Linked DNA regions of Homo sapiens: region 2 is linked to region 1. Evidence: promoter capture Hi-C in human tissues and cell types (Jung and others, 2019). All regions are on one chromosome and are shown on one strand. The core of a region is centred on a gene start or on the middle of the fragment in contact, and the rest is flanking DNA. Distances in the headings are between cores, read along the strand shown. Region 1 holds the start of ADAM12 (ADAM metallopeptidase domain 12). Region 2 overlaps DHX32 (DEAH-box helicase 32 (putative)).

Evidence for each region. Contacts are between HindIII fragments. The study calls those that stand out against the background at their distance.
Region 2: a contact is called between a fragment that was not itself captured here and the fragment with the promoter of ADAM12 in region 1, in 2 of the 25 tissues and cell types used here (H1 embryonic stem cells and dorsolateral prefrontal cortex).

Annotation. Positions count from the first base shown.
Region 1 is chr10:126,386,494-126,390,108 of GRCh38, reverse strand. It overlaps ADAM12 (ADAM metallopeptidase domain 12), which reads left to right and starts at 1,632. Exons shown (of 23, transcript NM_001288973.2): 1 at 1,632-2,051. The coding sequence starts at 1,964. The HindIII fragment of the contact is 8,947 bases long and covers 104-3,615 here.
Region 2 is chr10:125,870,070-125,873,914 of GRCh38, reverse strand. The region is part of intron 1 of DHX32 (DEAH-box helicase 32 (putative)); the gene reads left to right. Among named protein-coding and RNA genes, the nearest start is that of DHX32, 9.3 kb to the left of the region's middle. The HindIII fragment of the contact is 3,346 bases long and covers 651-3,845 here.

The DNA of each region.
Region 1 (3,615 bases), core at 383-2,882:
ACCAGGTCCCTCCCACAACACATGGGAATTCAAGATGAGATTTGGGTGGGGACACAGCCAAACCATATCAGTAAACAAGCCTAATCATTATTAACTAGGTTAAGTAACTAGCTCACACTGTCCAATAATGATGATTTATCAGTTTGATCAGAAAGAAAAGTCTTTGAAGGCAAGAGGCTTTCTCGTTTAGTTTCCCAAGTTCTAACATAGGGTTGCTCATGTAGATTGACTGAATGAATGAACAAAAGAAGTACACTGCAACGCTGGTTGGTAGTACGGTTAGATATGACACAGGGCTTGAACCAGGCCTGGTTTCCAGATCTGGTACTGAGATATGGCAGCATTGGGAAGGGGGCTGGAGAGCCTGTGCTTCCCACTAAGGTTTTTTAAAAAGAAAGTCCTGCACCTTGTTAGGAGGATCGACCTGGGTTTTGGGAACACTGCAAAACCTGCCGTGGGAGGGAACTCCTGAGAAAACTCCTCTGCAGTGGGAAGAGATGGTATGGAAGGCAGCTTCCTCAAATGCTGGATAACCGCCTCCTAGGAGTGGGTGCTCCGTCAGGAATCGGTGCGAGGTCGCAGGACCAGGATGGAATTTCTGCAGGTGGTCCTAGGTCTGAGCAGCACAGTAGAATCACCTGAGGCTTTGAAAACTATTGAGCTCCACGCATTGTGGGAAACTGAGTTAACTGGTGTCTGGGGCTGGCAATGTCTTTAACTCTTACTATTCTAATAAGTCCCCAAGGTTGGGAATCATGGTAACCCGCAGGGTGGGCATCAGCCATCCTCCATAGCTCCAGCCATTTCTGTCTGTGCGGGCCCCCTCGCTGCTGCTTTTCATGGTCTCCCTGAGGGCCGAGCGAGGCTGAAGAGGTGGGGTCAGCCCGGAACAAGGATGAGAAGGCAAGGCGCACCATTCTTTCATTGGTGTTTCTCCAAACACCCTGGGCTCCCCTGGCCTCACAGCCTGGAGAGTCTCATTCTGAAAGCGTAGGAGGGCGCCCGGGAATCTTTTTAACAAGCCAACCCAGGTGCTTCTTACAATCAGGAAAGTTTGGGGAACGTCACTGTACACCCTTTTCTGGGTCCAGGTCATGGAATGGAAACGTGAGCCAATCTATCAACGTAAAACCTAACACTGTTGATCAAAAGTAACGCCCAGGTGTCTTGTGCCTGCGAGTCCAAGCTTGTTTCTCGGGCGAGAGATGCCCCTTTGGGCGCTTAGGGCCGGGCGGGGTCGCGCGCCGGGCTGTGGGCCGCGGTGGAGACCTGACCCGCACTCCGAGGGTTCCCAGAGAGCCGGGGAGCGAGTAGCAGAGTCATCGTTTCCAGCTTCAGCCTGAAAAGCTGGACCGTGCCGCCGCATGTGCGCTTGGCAGCCGGGCGCCCCGGGCCCTGCGGCCACATCATCCTGGGGCGGGGACGTGTGCGCTCCGGGCGCCCGGACGCCACTGAGCCACGTCTGAGCCGCCCACCCTCGGGGGTGAGCGAGCCGCGGCTCGGGGCGGGACCCTGGCGGGGGGACCCGAGCGGTCTCTAGGACCCGCGGGACGCCGCCAACTGGCGGGGGTGCGGGGGAGACAATAATTTGTTCCGCGGTAATAAGAACGGTGACTGCTGGCCGTGGATCCATTTCACAGGCCTGCCTTCTCTCACTAACGCTCTTCCTAGTCCCCGGGCCAACTCGGACAGTTTGCTCATTTATTGCAACGGTCAAGGCTGGCTTGTGCCAGAACGGCGCGCGCGCGCGCACGCACGCACACACACGGGGGGAAACTTTTTTAAAAATGAAAGGCTAGAAGAGCTCAGCGGCGGCGCGGGCGCTGCGCGAGGGCTCCGGAGCTGACTCGCCGAGGCAGGAAATCCCTCCGGTCGCGACGCCCGGCCCCGGCTCGGCGCCCGCGTGGGATGGTGCAGCGCTCGCCGCCGGGCCCGAGAGCTGCTGCACTGAAGGCCGGCGACGATGGCAGCGCGCCCGCTGCCCGTGTCCCCCGCCCGCGCCCTCCTGCTCGCCCTGGCCGGTGCTCTGCTCGCGCCCTGCGAGGCCCGAGGTAAGTCGCCGAACTAGGGCGGCTCGCTGCCCGCCCCGCCGAGGGCACCGCACGCTGCGCCTGGGCGCGCCGAGGTCCAGGGCTGCCCCGAGGGGCGACGCGCCCCGGCGCATCTCCGGAGCCCCGGGGCTTGCGCTTCCAGCGCGGCGAGACCGACCCCCCCCCCCCAGGTGCCAATTCCTTGGGGAAGGGCGACACTTGGCCCGCAGCCCCACAGGAGCCAGTACCTGCCCCGGAGGGCACAGCCTCGGGACCGCTCCCCCGTCCTCACCCTCTTGGGTGACATTTGCAGATGTCTCTGTATCTTGACATTTACACGTGTCACTCGGGACGATGCGTGTCGGGTCCTCTTGCTGGCCCTATCCCGCAGTGAATATCCCCACCCCAGGCTCCGGGCCAGCCCTTCACCAGGTTTCCTTTCCAGCCCCGCCTCCCCCGCTAACACACTTAGGGGGGCGCGCAGCGGCCCCGCAGGTGAGGCAGCCCCCTCCTCCGCAGGTGTGCCTGCTGCTCTCCACAGCAGGCTCTATTTTCATAAACTGACTCTCTTACCTACTTCTTTAGTTTCCTCTCTGCCCCTCTTCCTGGCTTCCAGGTCACTCCCTAGCTGTCAGTCGCAGGCAAACTTTAGCGGAATTCTCCCTCCTTCCTCCACTCAGTTTCTCCGCCGTAAATAATCGCCCCCATCAACTTGGTGCACAGCGAGAACTTACTTAGTTTAACGTACTTAGTTTTACAGACTTAGGTTTTCCCGAGTTGTAGCCCCTTAAAATCGGGCACCTGTGGCTCCCGTTTGCACAGTGAGGACTCACCCAGCAGGTGCCTTTTTAAAAATCCGGCAACTTCCCCGGGTCTCCGCCGCCGCCGCCTTCTTTCTGCCGCCCGGGGCGCTGTCGGTCCACCGATGAACGACTTCCCTTGGCCGCAAGCTCTCAAGTTCTGTGATTCTATATAACAGGCATTTATTTTTCAACAACTGGCCTAAATCACGAACCGTTACCACTTTATGATACGTTTTATTTTGCGATTGCCACTGCTGCCCTCCGCCCCCACCGCGTCTACTGTAATGTGGCTAAAACCCAGTTCTTGTTAAAAGCCACACTGCGAAGACCAATTCGGGGATAAATGATTAAATACAAAGATTGCACAAAGCAATGAGAAAGTCAAGAAAGAATCCTGCTGAGGGTTTAAAGAACTCTACGACCTGTAGTGAATTGTGCTTTGAAAGACTTTTAAACAAATTGGTCCTTTTGAATGTTTATTAAGAAAGAACTTTTTAAAAAACGGAAAGTGTCTCAAAGTGTGCCTGACATGGTCTTTAACTTGGCACGTGCTTTGTACACATAAAGAGAAGTCTACTGAGCAGGGACAAATTTTTTTTTTGGAAGAAAATGTTTATTAAATCCAGCTAATAATGGGAAATTATTTCTTGTGTGTGTGGGCGGGGGAGGACTTTTACTATTTTATGAGTTCAGCTTTGGTAGAGAGAGTGTTTCCTTAAGACAGATATGACCCAAAATAGAAAACCAGGGAGGCCTAAGCACTTTGAATGGGTTACCTATTG
Region 2 (3,845 bases), core at 1,074-3,573, 520 kb after region 1:
GATTCTAAAAGATGTATGACTTAGAACATCTGTACTTCTATTGACTGAGTAAACTTGTTCACCATTTTCTGCTGGTAGGTTCTACCTGTATTCACTCAAAACCAAGATGTATGTGAATTGTTATCCAGGGATGTGTGATATTTGATTCAGAAGGGACCTCACTCCTCAGTAATGGATTCTGATATATTGGCTCACTTTGGGTGGGATAGCTGCCTTAGGGGCATACTCAGGCTAGGCATTTTACAGGAATGTTGTTGAAACCATTAAGACTTGCAAACTTAAAAACCATGAGCTTGTGCTGATGAATTCAACACTGAATGTGTTGAATTCACCTTTGGGTGAATTGGTGGTTCTTTAGATTCCTTTAAACTTGTAGATTCTGTTTTTCTGGTACTGAAATTAAAGGGAGTGATTGGGACCTTGGCAGTAGCTTCAGGATTGGTGGTCCTAGAGACATTAAGAGAAGAAAGCAGAAGAGGACTCAGGCCCTGATGGACGTCCTGATGATCAAAAGTGAGGGATTAGAGGCCTTTGGGACTAGTATGTGTCTAACAGAACAGTAATAGCATTGTGTCTCATGGAGGTCCTTTTTTTCTCACTTCATTTATTCTCATTTAACTATATTAAATTATAGTTAACTAACTTTATTATCCATTAGATGAGGTGAAACAATCACTGGCAGTAGATGGAAAGGACAGAAAGTTCTACACCAGTGTAGCTCATGTGGAGGTCCTCTTGCCACAGTGGCAGTGATGAGACCATACACGGATACGTGATGCCGCTGCTGCTCCCTTGATTCTGATCTGGATCTGGTTGCAGATTCTTATAGGAGATCTCCCTGCAGCCCACCCTAAAGACCCCAGGCCCCAGCTCTCCCACTACCCAGCAGCCCAACCTCTGTGTGCTGCCCGGAGTTGGGAATGGAGCATCTTTGCCTCACTGTCTGAATTTGTACAAGTTGTAGAACTGCAGTTGCTAACTTAGGTTGATAAAGCCTTGATTTAGATTAGATTTTGATTACCCGGAGGACTCCTCTTACCTACTCTCATAGCAGCAGATTGGCCAGAGTGTTGGTGATTTCCTTTCAGGTAGGCGGTAAGAGGCCAGGGATGCACATTCTCATGCCTCGATTGCTTACCTTGCATGCCCCAGAGTCAGTTCCAGCTGGGCTTTGGGACAGAGCATAGGGCAGGCCCCACTGCTCTGGCTTTATGCAAATGGCACATCAGAAGTACAGAAAACTGAATTTAGAAAATGGATTGAGAAACATGAAAAAAGTATTTGGTGAGTTCAGAATAAAGAGATGTGAAGTATTGATTTCTAGTTAGGGAGCATTTCCAGACCAAATGCGTAAATCCAAGGGTTGCACATCACCAAACTCCCAGGATAAATCACATGAAAATAGCTTTTTTTATGTGTTAGAGGAGCAATTTTCTGTTTCTTCACCATATTGTGCAACTTTTGCTAAGTACTCAGTCACAAAGTGACCCAGAATTCAATGTTTCTCTGAAAAAAGTTAAAGCCAAATGATTCATAGAAAGGTACAACTATTTAAGCTTTTCTAATTCCCATAGTGCCAACTTGGCAACTAGTCCATCCAGAATAATGTTTTTTAATACTAGGGGGGAATATCTTCCAAAGAGGAACTATGGGGTAGAAACAAAACCTCTAACAGGCTTGTAAGTCATTGGTGAGAAGACAAAGATGCAACTGGGACAATGAAAAAGTTGCTAAGTAGTACCCAGAAAAGTTAGGCCAGGTGTTGTGGCTCACACCTGTAATCCCAGCACTTTGGGAGGCCGAGGCGGGCGGATCACCTGAGGTTGGGAATTGGAGACCAGCCTGACCAGCATGGAGAAACCTCGTCTCTACTAAAAATACAAAATTAGCCAGGTGTGCTGGTGCGTGCCTGTAATCCCAGCTACTTGGGACGCTGAGGCAGGAGAATTGCTTGAACCCGGGAGGCGGAGGTTGCAGTGAGCCAAGATCCTGCCATTGCACTCCAGCCTGGGCAACAAGAGTGAGACTCCATCTCAAAAAAAAAAAAAAAAAGAAAAGAAGCAGAACTAGGGGAAGAAAGGTCAATACCAACAAGAGATACAATATTTACTATAAATGCAGAGAAGGCAAGAGTTCTTTGTAAAGCTGCAATCTCAGTATCCCTTGAAATGTGAAATACTCAAATTATCGACATTTGCCAAATGATAACATTTTTTAGCCAGTAATTCAAGTTTGCTAAGGAATCAACCCTCAGTATGTTACTTAGCTTGCCCAGAGTGATTCAGAAGGCATGTAAAACTGGAGAACTCTAACAAATAAGGCAGATGGTTTCATGTTTCCCTCTTTTCTGGCTGGAGATAACCTTTTCAGTTTGTGTTTGCATTGCTTACTGTTAACTATCTCCAAGTAGCTGTTACTGGAAGGGGAGCTGCATCCTATGTGGTCAGAGCCACAGTTGAGTACGTGCAGTATAATTTGTTGTGACTTCTGCTCAACTATTAACTTGGGCACGTAAGCAAACATTCCTACATTAAGCACGATATGGATATGTTCAGTCTTCTACTGGTTATTGTAACTGATATTTAGATGGCCTTTTCCCATTTCTGAATTAATGTCTTTGCCTCATAGGTGAAATAGTTTGCTCTAATGTAGAGGAAGGCAGAAAAGGAAAATGAAGACTGTTGGATTGGTATATTTGTTGTACTTCCAGGAATGTATAATGTTTATACTATTATCAACACACTGTAATAAACTAATCTTGCAGAATGTGTTTCATGAGCAAAGAGAAATAAATTAAATGCAGTTTTTAAAAAAGGCCCAAATCAGAAGCTTGAGAACATGGCTCATGATCATTGGAATCTTGTCGAATTTTAGAGTTCGAAAGCAGCTGTCCTGGACCTTATATGAATAACCAGGCTGAACGTGTCCAAATGTTTTAATAAAACTGGATAGTATTATTTCAGCAACGATTCTAGCTATGTAAAGCAGTGCCCACTGTCATCATAGTACTGTCCCCCTGATGTTGCCATTAGGCTAGAAAGAGTAGTTTATTTATTTATTTTTATTTTTTATTTTTTTGAGACAGAGTCTCGCTCTGTTGCCCAGGCTGGAGTGCAGTGGTGTGATCTCAGCTCACTGCAACCTGCGCCTCCCGGGTTCAAGTGATTTTCCTGCCTCAGCCTCCCGAGTAGCTGGGATTACAGGCACCCACCACCACGCCTGGCTAATTTTTGTATTTTTAATAGAGATGGGGTTTCGTCACGTTGGCCAGGTTAGCCTCAAACTCCTGACCTCTCAAATAATCCACCCGCCTTGGCCTCCCAAAGTGCTGAGATTACAGATGTGAGCCACCGCACCCAGCCTAGAAAGAGTAATTTAAAATGCTGATTGCCTGAGAATTTCATGGCTTCAGTTGCCACCTTTCTATAAAGATGCTTAGAAGCAACTGTGATGTAGTGGCAATTATACTCGCCAAGAAACTAGAAGATATGGATTGGTTCTGGTCATGCTGTTTACTGGCAGTATGACCTTGGACAAGTCACGCCTCTAAGTTTCTTTCCTCATGCATCAAATGAGGGTGTTGGCCTTCATGTCTTCCAGAGATTTCTTTCAGTACTGAAATTCTGCAACTACCATGCCTATCTCTAGCTCTGACCTCTCCCTTAGCCTCCTGCCTTGCTTTTCCGTTGATCCCAGGATGGTTATGCCTGGATGTTCTTCTGATAACATTGACCATCTTCCTGACTATCCTGAAGGTCATCTTCCTACCCTCCTAACTCCTGATTCCCCCCAAAAGAACTTTATGCTGCTCTTTAGCTTCATTCATTTATTTTATTTTACTTTCC